Regions from separate parts of the Homo sapiens genome. Here regions 1, 2 and 3 are each linked to region 4. Evidence: promoter capture Hi-C in human tissues and cell types (Jung and others, 2019). All regions are on one chromosome and are shown on one strand. Each heading gives the region's core, a stretch centred on a gene start or on the middle of the fragment in contact. The rest is flanking DNA. Distances are from core to core; before and after follow the strand shown. Region 1 overlaps CFAP299 (cilia and flagella associated protein 299). Region 2 overlaps CFAP299 (cilia and flagella associated protein 299). Region 3 overlaps CFAP299 (cilia and flagella associated protein 299). Region 4 holds the start of BMP3 (bone morphogenetic protein 3).

The links. The method cuts DNA at HindIII sites, captures the fragments that hold promoters and counts their contacts. A contact is called where the count stands out against the background at its distance.
Region 1: a contact is called between a fragment that was not itself captured here and the fragment with the promoter of BMP3 in region 4, in 1 of the 25 tissues and cell types used here (H1 embryonic stem cells).
Region 2: a contact is called between a fragment that was not itself captured here and the fragment with the promoter of BMP3 in region 4, in 1 of the 25 tissues and cell types used here (IMR-90 fibroblasts).
Region 3: a fragment that was not itself captured here is called in contact with the fragment with the promoter of BMP3 in region 4 in 2 of the 25 tissues and cell types used here (H1 embryonic stem cells and IMR-90 fibroblasts).

What each region holds. Positions count from the first base shown.
Region 1 is chr4:80,652,909-80,655,608 of GRCh38, reverse strand. All of the region lies in intron 3 of CFAP299 (cilia and flagella associated protein 299), which reads right to left. Among named protein-coding and RNA genes, the nearest start is that of CFAP299, 320 kb to the right of the region's middle. The HindIII fragment of the contact is 4,846 bases long and covers 1-2,700 here.
Region 2 is chr4:80,714,786-80,717,653 of GRCh38, reverse strand. All of the region lies in intron 3 of CFAP299 (cilia and flagella associated protein 299), which reads right to left. Among named protein-coding and RNA genes, the nearest start is that of BMP3, 310 kb to the left of the region's middle. The HindIII fragment of the contact is 4,552 bases long and covers 1-2,868 here.
Region 3 is chr4:80,635,851-80,638,780 of GRCh38, reverse strand. The region is part of intron 3 of CFAP299 (cilia and flagella associated protein 299); the gene reads right to left. Among named protein-coding and RNA genes, the nearest start is that of CFAP299, 300 kb to the right of the region's middle. The HindIII fragment of the contact is 7,577 bases long and covers 1-2,930 here.
Region 4 is chr4:81,029,087-81,031,991 of GRCh38, reverse strand. It overlaps BMP3 (bone morphogenetic protein 3), which reads right to left and starts at 1,284. Exons shown (of 3, transcript NM_001201.5): 1 at 392-1,284. The coding sequence starts at 707. The HindIII fragment of the contact is 7,363 bases long and covers 1-2,905 here.

The DNA of each region.
Region 1 (2,700 bases), core at 187-2,686, 380 kb after region 4:
TATTAAAATGAAAAAAAGAAACATATTCCCATACCCTTGAAAAATGAGGGGGTTTCTCTTTTATTTGCTCTTCAAGAACAACACATGCAAAGCATTTGTGGAGCCAACACAGCTGCAGGACCCACTTACCATACCAATTCTGTGTACCCATTCTAGCTTTTACAGACTTGAGTTTAAGATATATAAAATACATTTCCTGTCATGATTCCAGAATATTTCTTTTAAAATCAGTATTTCATCATATTGTATCCGGCAGCAATAGACGATAGCTTATTTTTGTATTTTTCAGTGTTACTTTTACTTCATCTTAAATATTTTCTTGTCATAATGTTAGAGAGATTGCTTAGCCAGAAATTAGATTACTGGAAATAGTAAATGCACAACCGATATGTTATGGATAATTAAATGGATAATACCTATTGTAGTCAATCAGTCTCACCGAAAGTTTTGACTGTCTGTCATTTATTCTGTATAGTACACAAACTCCTAGAGAATTATTTTTAAATAAAGGTAAAAGATTAAGTATTATTAATTAACTGGCATCGCCCTAGAATTCACTCTTAATGTCTTTTATTAAAATATTACATTTTGTGGGTCTGACTAAAGAGACTAGGAAATAAAAGTGTGTGGATGTTTGTTACTTCAACAGATGAAAATACATATTTTAATTTTTTAAAAATAGTAAGTTAGAATAGCTAGGTATGATGGTTACTACCTATAATTCCAGCACTTTGGGTGGCCAAGGCAAGAGGATTGCTTGAGGCTATTAGTGCCTGAGCCATAGAAAGAGACCTCGTCTCTACCAAAAAAAAAAAAAAAAAAAAGTTAAAAATTAGCTCGGCATGGTGGCATGCATGCCTATAGTCCCAGCTACTCAGGAGGTTGAAGTGGAAGGATTCTTTAAGCCCAGGAGATTGCAGTAAGCTATGATCTATGATCATTGCCTGTGCATTTCAGCCTAAGCAACTGAGTCAGACCCATTCCCTCATCTCAAAAAGCTTAGAATAATGAATATTGAATTGCACAAATTATTAACTCAGTGCAATATAGAAGGTGGATCTGTGGACATGCTTACAGTTATGTGTTTATTTTAATTTCTGATGGCATTTTGCCTTCAAATAATCATTCATTTAGAACAGAAAATGTTACAATAGATTAATGAAACCTAAAACACAGTTACCCTAAAGGCTGAAGAAAGGAAGAAAGCCCAAGAACTATAAACATACTATCCAGACATTGGAGCAACAGAGTTTACAGAAAATTCCATGAGAAATCTTCCAGACCAATAAATACCACCAAAATATCTGCTCTGAGTAAAACTCCCAGGTGCCTTTATCCTGAGGGCATAAAAAATAACTGAATGCACTTTATCTATTTTGAACACAGGCAATTAAAAAGACACAAAGATTTGTAAAACATGAATTCAATAATGTATTGCTACTATTGATCATATTAATCTTTAAGCTTTAAGAAACTGCCCATCATTCCCCAGTACCGCAATGTCATGGAGCTTTTTAACAGGTTAGCCATAATTTGAGCAAACTGTATAACCCAAATGTCATAACTGCAGAGCAAGCATCTGAAATAAACTCAGCTCAATGCATTAGTTCTTTCCCACCACATTATATTAGCATGATATGCATACCCACATATATATAAACACATATTAAAGATGTATGAACAAATAGGACACAAACTTGATGGCAGTAAATCATTGTATAAAACACTCATATGAAATGTCCAGCAAGAAAAGACTACTACATTATTGTTTAACACGAATAACATCTTAAGACTATGAAAATTTTTTCAATATTAGAATTTAGTATTTCAAGTGATAGACAATGGTTTTGGTGAAAATACTTAAAAATGTATTGTATGCTTCAAACACATTTTAATGTAAAATGAAGTTTTTCTTGATACTATCCTTTTATTATATAAAGCATTGTGTCCTTGTGTTACATTCAAAACGAATATAAATGGAAGTGCTAATATGTTTTTTTCATACACTTTACTTGCTCATCTTTCTGTCCCTCTGAGGTATGTGTTTGGGGACCACTGATAAGGACAATGAGAAGACACTGTAATTTTTGAACAGGAGAATGGCATTGACAGAAGAATATGCTATAGTGTTCACCTTGGGTAGAAAGCATATTTGAGTAGATGACATTATAGATCAGTAGGAGGCCATTTGTAATTTTTTAAATTTTTGTACTGTATACATAATCCAGTTGAGTAAAAATGAAGCCCTAAACTACAACAGAGGGATGGAGAAAAGGAGACAGATGGCAAAGGAAACATCACTAAAAATGGAGAGGTGAGGAGGAAATGGCTTTAGGATATCTCCTGTGTGCCTTACCTGAACCATCAGACAGTAGATCTGCCGTTTGTCAAAATGTGGGACAGAAAGAGGAGGTTTTGGATAAGTATGAAAAACTATGCATTCAGTTTTATGTATATCTGATATACAAGTGTGCATATAGCTGAATACAGAGGTTTGGACCTGAGAAAAGAGATGTAGGATGGAAACCATCACTTCACAGTTTTAAGCAGACAACAAAAGCAGGGTACATTGTCTCTAAATTCACATGAGAAATACAAGAGGAGGGGACTCTACTTCTTTTATTAACAGCTTTCAAAGATGAACTTACTATACTTCCTGATTCCCTATGTGGAAAACATGGAGCATGAGTATGCAATTCC
Region 2 (2,868 bases), core at 124-2,623, 310 kb after region 4:
TGTTTTCATAATTATTAATACATTCTCCTATAAAGAGACATTTGTAATTTTTTGAAACAATGATCCTGAGACATAAATAACTTAAAGGCCTGTCTGGAATACATTTTGGGGGAATTCAGGACTTTAGATGTTTTTTCTACCAGTAGTTGGAAAAAGACTAGTAGTCATATGTGATTTCTGCTGACCTGAATTTATTTCCAGTAACAGCGGTCATAACAAAGCATTCAAATATGACTTTGTATATCTCAAATGTCATGGGAGAAGCTGGAACTGTACAAGAGAAAATCATTGCCAGACGTTCTGGTTCTCTTCTCTTATTTAAAAGCAGCCAAACTCAACTCATCCTTCAGTTTTCTGCTTACACATGCTCACTTACAAAGGGAGACCATCCCTTTTAGGGTAGGTCAGATACTCCTCTAAGTGGTCCTATGTCACCACCCCACCTTAGTTTACCCTATCATAGTATTCATCACATTTTTTTCATAGTTATTGTGTGGTTATATTTCTTCCTGACATATTGAAAACTTCATAAAAAAGGAAAAACGTATCTGTCGTATTCATTGGTGTAGCCCCAGCACTGAGCAGATTATTTTACACAACATTGGTTACTCAATAAATATTAAATAAATGAATGGGTAAATGAATACATTTCCCAATAGTTGTGCAGGTTTAAATTTAGGGCCAGAGACATCTCTAGAACTTGTGTCTGAAGTAGACACCAGAAAATCAGAAAACACATTCCTTCAAAGGTTTTCAGTAGGTTGCAATTCCTGGGCAACCTCTCTATCACTGACAATCACCACAGACCATCAGAGATCATCTGAATTGGCACTGCTTTGGAACCAGCTAGGACTCCCTAATCCACAGCTATACATTATGTATATACATATTCAGATTCAACTAAACTGGTTTGTAAAGAAGTACCTATGTACCACGATAAAAGACAGGTGCTTTATCATGTAATTTCACTCAGTGGTACAAACTTTAATGGGGCAGGATGCTCATTTGCATTATAAATAAAGAAGTAAGCTACAAAATATATCACAACTAGAGCCAAATCATCTAGCTTGTTAGTGGAAGAACAACGATGCATACAAATGTAATGTAAGCTTGCACATTGGGAGTGAATATTTTGAAGCAAGGCACAATTTGATTGTGTGTGTTTTTCCATGGGTGTATCATGTGTCATCAGTGAACTCAACTGAAGCCCAAATTGATCTGTCTTATAGAATATATTAGGATATATCTTATAGAATATATTATATATATATAGAATATATCAATACTATCCTTATTGACATTCACTTGCTATCAGGCAATAGATTATGTACATTTTCTACATCTCATTTTTCTCATCTGCAAAGTGAAAATACTACGTGCCTTGTTTCTCTCATGAGGTCATGGGAAGAGCAAGCAAGATATCCACATGGAAGTCATATTGCAATAATATAACACTTCAAAATTTTAAAAAGATTGTTAACACAGTTATCCCTATTTTCTTACCCTGTACTTATTTTACTGAGCAAGCTTTGTTTTCTTCTTTATTTGTATTTGTGGGTTTATAGCTTTTAGGTAACTACTCCCAAATTCTTTCAATTCTATCAACATTATCCTAGTTAGTTTGAAGGATTTTTTTCAGATTTAGACATATTAAAAATCAAATTGGATTCCCAGAAAAATAACAATTGTTTACACTGAAAGTTTGCTTTTCCATGGTTATTCTTAAAATGAAGGCGAATTCAAGAAGGTTTGATGAAAACAATATTGGACTTGACTTTTGAACACTGCTCTACATTTATCAGCATTACAGCCCTTAATTTGAAACTTCCATCAATAAAATGGTGGTGATAATTGCGAGTTGTCTTAAAAATCATCAAATTCCATCAAATGGCCAATAGCACAAAAGACTTTGTGCTTTACTCATATAGTCAATATTTAAGAGAAAATGCATTTAAAAGAAAAACGTACATTTTATATATTTTAAACCAGTTTTTGTTTTTTGAAAATAATTTTTTATTTCTAAAAAGCATATGCCATAATGTTAACTAATTTGATGGTAAATTGAATATATTTCTTTGATAACACAAAGTGTAGACCCATTTTGGTCTTTCAGAAGTGCAATATTTATGACAACCCTCAGGAAATTAAAAGGTTTGCTATTACCACATCAGAAACAAGAAAAAAATGTCTGCCATCACAAAACAAAACAAACCTTTTTGTGGAAAGTATTGCTTGATCTGTTATTATCAGCAGCAAATAGACCTAAGCATTGCCAGAATTTATAGGGAAATCAACATATCTGAGGTAAGCCAACTTGTCCTTTTTCCCCCTCTCTTAAACAAGGTTGGGTTATATGGAGGCAGCAAAATGCTTTGTATTTCTTTACTATGTTCCAACCAAATCACATAGCCAAGTTTCAGAATCATTGTGTTTATATAGTGAACTTCAAACACCTATTTCCTAATTTGGATTGATCAGAACATCTTCAAAACATCTGCCCAACTTGGTACTCTGCCCAGGAAGTCTAATAACTTTTGAGAAGAGAAACTAAGATTTATTGGGTAAGACAGGGAACTACCTGGAAAATTGTGAGGTTTTAGTAAGACTATCGGTACTCCTAAACTTGCCAAGAGTCAGCCCTGTGGAATTCAGTAAGAACTCTAGGTAGCTTGAACATAAACTCTTTGATTAAATGCAATTATAAGAAATTGTCATGTGTCAGAATTGATATTTTTTTCCTGGAATAACATACAAAATAGTCAATGTCGGAAGTATGATTAGTAGATTTCCAAAACGGGCTCAATTTTCCTACATGGTATGGTCTGGAAGTAATGAGAAATTCTGCTTTCTGCTTTCTCAAAACTCCAT
Region 3 (2,930 bases), core at 8-2,507, 390 kb after region 4:
GAACCTAAGAGTGACTGCAGGCACCCATGATGGATCACACTTGGCATTGTTGTTGGACTTTGAATTTAACAGGAACTAAAAGAGAATAATAGAACTTACCATCAGAAAATATGATCATTGTGATAATCCAGAAACTCTAGTCAGGGACACAATCCAGGCAGTTAAACTGTGACCTGTAGCTGCATCCTTATATTCTCAGGGAAGCATGACTCAAGTGTTGGACTCCGTGTTTTAAGTCATTGAATAGGCCTGCTCTAGTGTTTCTGATTTCGGAGATCTCTAGTTCCTTTTCTTTGAAATAAGGCTATGTTACTTCTGTGTATTTTTCATGTCAACCTTGCATTCTCATCAAGGGAGACCTATCACTAGACCCAAGAAGCATGGCTAAATAGGCTTCACAGCTTATATGATCACAAATTCATATATCGATAAAGTGCATCATAATCTTCAAATGTTGAAGAAAATGTTCTCAAATTGGAGCCCGTTGGCATAAATTAGCTCCCTTCCACACCCCATTACTAAAACTGAATAAAAGTTCTCCAAGTAGGGGGATCAGGATGGCACTGTGAAAAGGGCCTGCAGCAGGAAGTTGAAGTTACTTGTTTCTGGTCTACCAGCCATGTTCCTACTCTCTGTGTGACTCTGGCAATGAGGCTTTCTGAGTCTCAGTTTCTCATCTGTCAATAAAAAAGGATTTGATGAGCTGGATCTCCTTGAACTCTGAACACTTGAAGATTTCCTGTAGCCACCAAATTTTCTCTCACATAAAATGCTAATTACATGTAGAAAGTTAATAAAAAATATTTTCTTTATTGCTAGAAATCAACCAGGATATTTTAAATTAAATATTTTAGGATAGTCAACTTTGTGTGACAAAAGAAATACAGAGATTGTACTGACTTTAAATGAGGCTTCTCTAGTGAAGAGTTGGAAGCAAGGCAACGTGACCTCAAGTTGAACTACTGTTTGCACATGTTAGTTTTTGAAGGACATGATAGAGGTTATATGCTTTTGTTAATTACTCTTTTTATTATTCTTTTAAGTCATCTAATAGGTTTGTTCTAGTGTTTCTGTTAGGTCCTTTTCTATGGAATGAGACTACCTTACATGTTTGCATCTTTCATGTCAACCTTGTATTCTCATTTGGGTAGCTATGACAAGTAAACGAGTTTGGCTGGTGGAGAGCCTTACATAAAATGAAATGCTATAGTGCTGGGAATTCCTCTTTAATTTTAACTTTAAACTCGATCTTTGGGTTGCATGACTGACCACCTTGTTATTACCTGTACAGAAAAAGGTTCCACCGATAGCAACTGTCTTAGGTCCACAGACCAAAGACAAATGCTGCCATTGTGCAGTCTGGCATAATCTGTCAAGGAAATGCACAGGCATTGACAACCATTTCTTTCCAAAGTCAGGGCATTTCACAGGAAAAAAATTGCATGTCTATCACTTCTCCTTTTACTGTACATTATATTATATCTATTATACCTTGCTGACAATGGCATATTTTTCTCATTTTCCCTCTATTTTGTTGGCATACAATTTAGGGGATATTAACCATACCTCTTTTATAGACCTTCTAAACCAACACTTTATCTTTATTAAACATTATATAGTGGGACTTAGGTTCTTGATCTTTACAAAAAATGAACAAAAGTAATTTATGATAGAACTATTCTTTGTAGCATCCATAGATGAACATAGTCTTTTTTGTTTCATAGTCTTTGTTTTATTTATTGATTCAGAGTGGAGTTTCAAACAATTATTTGATAGGTACATTGAACAAAACTTTTTTCTTTAATTCTGATTATTATTTTTGTGAACAATACTTTTTTAAAAACTTCAATTTTTTATTTTCTAATATATACCTATACCTTAATTTTCTGTACTCGGGGTGGACAAACTTTCTCTACAAGGAACAAGTAAATATTTTAGGTTTTGTTGGCCATACAGTTTCTGTTACAATTAGTCAACTTTGCCATTTGGTGCAAAAGCAGCCATAGAAAATAGGTAAATGAATGAGTACAGCTGAGTACCGATAAAACATTAGGTAGGCTGGGTTTGACCCATGAGCAATTGTTTGCCAGCTCCTGCTCTATCTCAGTCTATAAGAGGTATTATACAAGTCATAAATATAGGATACCAAGATATGTTGATTTAGAACACTTTTCTACCAGCCATGTCACTTTAGGCATGTCTTAACGTATCTGAGCATCGTCATTTATAATTTGAAAGAGTTTAGTCTAGGCAGATGCTATCAATCTCTAATATTTTTATAGTCACTTGAGCAGTCCTTTGACTATTTATGAACAAATGCAAAGAAGCATAATGCTAACACTTGTAAGATTTTTTTAATCTTAAAAATTCTCGTTTGTAAACTTTATTGCTTTTCTTTGAAAAATAAACTTTTATAATTACTCAGTAACACTTCTGAGTGGTTACAAATGAAATGCTCCATTTACTCATAGATGACCTTTTAATATTGAAAAGGAAGGGTCTGAGGATACAATAAAGAGTCACATGAAGTTTAAGGCCACCTGAAAGTTAAGGCTGCTGATCTGGCCAGCTAGGCAGGTGTCACTTTCTTCCTCTCTAATCCCTGTCTGTACTTCTAAAGAAGGAGGAAGGTTTCAGAGAAAGCTTTATTTTTTAATCCTTCTGAGATATATTAGTGACCATGAATATGTGATAATTGTACTAAAAAGATTTGCTATTTTTCTAATTTGAGGCTTCTATTAACTGAGGAGAAATCCTAAAATTTGCTTTTCAATGTACATTTCCTTTTAGTATCAGTGAACTTACATGAAGTCTCTTGCAGAAAATATATATATTTTTACCAGAATGTGAAACTACCCAATTGTCAGTGGGCCATGTTTAACAAAAGACCTGAGATCTCCAAATTCTGTGCAGTCACCTAAGGTAGTAAA
Region 4 (2,905 bases), core at 35-2,534:
AGTCCAAAGGAATTTCCGCTGGCCGATTTAGGAATCAACAGAATAAGGTACCCTAGAGGTGCTCCAGTCACTCAGGGCAGGAGGCCTCACAGGCATGGGGTGTCGCCCCTTCCCTTTTTCCACGAAGCTCCTCCAGCCTACCCCTCCACTGCTCCGCGCCTTCATTCTATTTCCCCCTCTCACTTTGGATTTGAAAACTGGGCTTACAGGAGATGCAGCTGGCGACACGCGGGGTGTGACTGGACGGAGGAATCCAGAGGGCAGCTGAGGAGGGCGGAGAAAGGTCCCTAGGCAGCGCCACCAAGCAAGGGGCAGACAAGGAAGCTGTGGGGGGTCCCGGGAGAAAGCTGGGGCGGGACCGCGGGAAGGGAGTCTCACCTCGCGCACTCACCTGCTGCTGCCGCCCGAAAGCTGCGAACCGTGTTGCCTTCGCGCAGGAGCCGAGGGCGCCAGGGCTGCGAGCCTCCCTCCAGGGAGCCCGGTGTCCGGGCCGCCTGGACCGTGCTGTACCTGTCATAGAGCCGCAGCATGTGTTCAGAGACCTTGTCTTGCGGCTGCAGCTCGGAGTCCGGGCCACCACCTGCCGTGCGGTCACCTGGCACAGCTTTGCGGAGCTCCGGGAAAGGTGGCTTCGGTCTCTCTCCCTGCGCCAGGCTCACGCAGAAGCAGCCCAGCCACAGAAAGAGCAGCCTGCTCGCCCCAGCCATGGCTAGGTACCCGCGCGGCGCGTCGGCTCCCGGCGTCGCTGCGGGACACTCCGAAGGCGCAAGGAGCCGGCGGCGGAGCCGAGGGTTGAACTCCAAACCAGCTGGGGCGAGGGCGCACGGAGCCCGGGACGCGGCCGGGTGCAGCGAGATAGCGGCCAGCCCCACTTGCTGCGCTGACCCAGCGCAGCCTGACAGGTGGGCTCTTCCCCAGCAGCTGCGCGGACCTCACCCGCGCAGGGCGCTGCGGGCGCCGTCTCCACTCCAACGCTGAGAAAGAGCTGTAGGTCGCGGCGTGTGTGGCCCGGGTGTTTTCAAGATCTGTCTGTACCTTCCCTCCTCGCTTTATTTTTGGGAACACCCGGCCAAACTGGCCGCGCGAGGGACTAGGACTAGCTCTGTTTTGGGCGCCAGGTCGGAGCCGGGGCTGTGCGCAGCGGTCCGGAGGGCGCTCGATTGCCTTTTCCAGGGATTGGAGCAGCTGCGGCGCGGCTGGTCCGAGTTTTTTAGTGTACGTGTGTGTGTGTGTGCGCGCGCGCGCGCGCGTGTGTGCGTGTGTGTGTGTGTATGAGAGAGAGAGACTTAGTTCTTTCGCTCTCTAGCTGATCTGTAGAGTCCTCAGCCAATCTCTCCCACTCCCTCGTCCTCGCCCTCTTAGCTTGCACCAGGCTGGGATAGAAGCAAGGGAGGGGGGGAGTAACCAGAGAACTGGCAGCGGGAGGGAGAGAAGAGGAAGTAGGGGTGGGGATGGCTGGGGAGAGGAAGGGAAAAGGAGATTCAGGACTAAAGAAATGGTAGGAGGGACGGTTTTTTTGTTTTGTTTTGTTTTGTTTTTGTTTGTTTTTTTTTTTAATTCTCCAAGAACAGTGGCTGTGTGGTGGCTAGCAAGAGGGCAGAGGAAAACAGAACTTCTTCCTGGCTTTTCGGTCTTATGATTCCAAACAAAGTCACAACGTGAACACCATTCTCGCTTACTTTCCCGAGCCTCTTCTGACGGACACTGCGGGCCCCTGCACCTGCAGCCCGTCATCATAGCTTCCTGTCTTTCTGAGAGCATACCCATCATAACGCCCCTCTCTCCCGCATCATCTTCTCTCGAGGTGAGAAATATGTGCGAGTCAATATCATGTTAAAAACAAATAAGAAAACAAGCAAACACACCACAACCCCACCTACAGCTTCCCCCAAAGGTTTCCTTCCTACAGGTCCCCAAAAGGTTTCCCAGCAGGATGGTGCAGTGGTGGCTAAAAACAAGGGTGTGTGGAAGATCCCGGAGTCCGGAACAGAATGTAAGAGTCGCTAGCTTTGTCTTCCTAATTCTCTCTTGTCATGGCTGTACAATGGAGATTAAACTATGAGCAGCCTGGCGCAGTGGCTCAGGCCTGTAATCCCAGCACTTTGGAAGGCCAAAGCGGGTGGATCACGAAGTCAGGAGTTCGAGACCAGCCTTGCCAACATGGTGAAACCTCATCTCTACTAAAAATACAAAAATTAGCTGGGCGTGGTGGTGCGCACATGTAATCCCAGCTACTGGGAAGGCTGCGGCAAGAGAATGGCTTGAATCCAGGAGATGGAGGTTGCAGTGAGCCGAGATTGTGCCACTGCACTCCAGACTGGGTGACAGAGCAAACTTTGTCTCAAAACAAAAAACAAACAAACAAACAAAAAACAACTGTGAGCTAACATTTTTCTCCACACTTATGCTCTAGACATGCCTTGTTATTTATATTTCAAGTATATTACCAAATAATTTTCACAGCAAAACCCATTTTACAGATGAGGAAACTGAGGCAAAAGGATACATAGTAAGTGACAGAACTGAGATCCAAATTCAGGGAGTCTGATTTCTGGCCTCAGGCCAGATAACCACACTATTAATAGTGAAATTAGCATTTAAACTGAAGTTTCAGTGTGCAATCCATGTAAATGTTTAGTGCAGTTCTTGACCATATGCAGTAAAATCTTCAGTCAATGTCTATTGCATTTATCCCTCTTCCCCTCTGTAGGGCAATGGAGTTGATCGAAAAGAAGATAGGCTCCTGGAGTCACACCATGTCTCCAGATCTGAGTTTCTTCTTTGATGGTGAATAACAACACATTCCTTTTAGAGTTTTGTTTGGATGACATTAGAAAGCAGTGCTAAAGTGACTGGCGCACTCACTAGCCTTTAATAGGGGCTCAATCCCTTTCTATCCTAAATT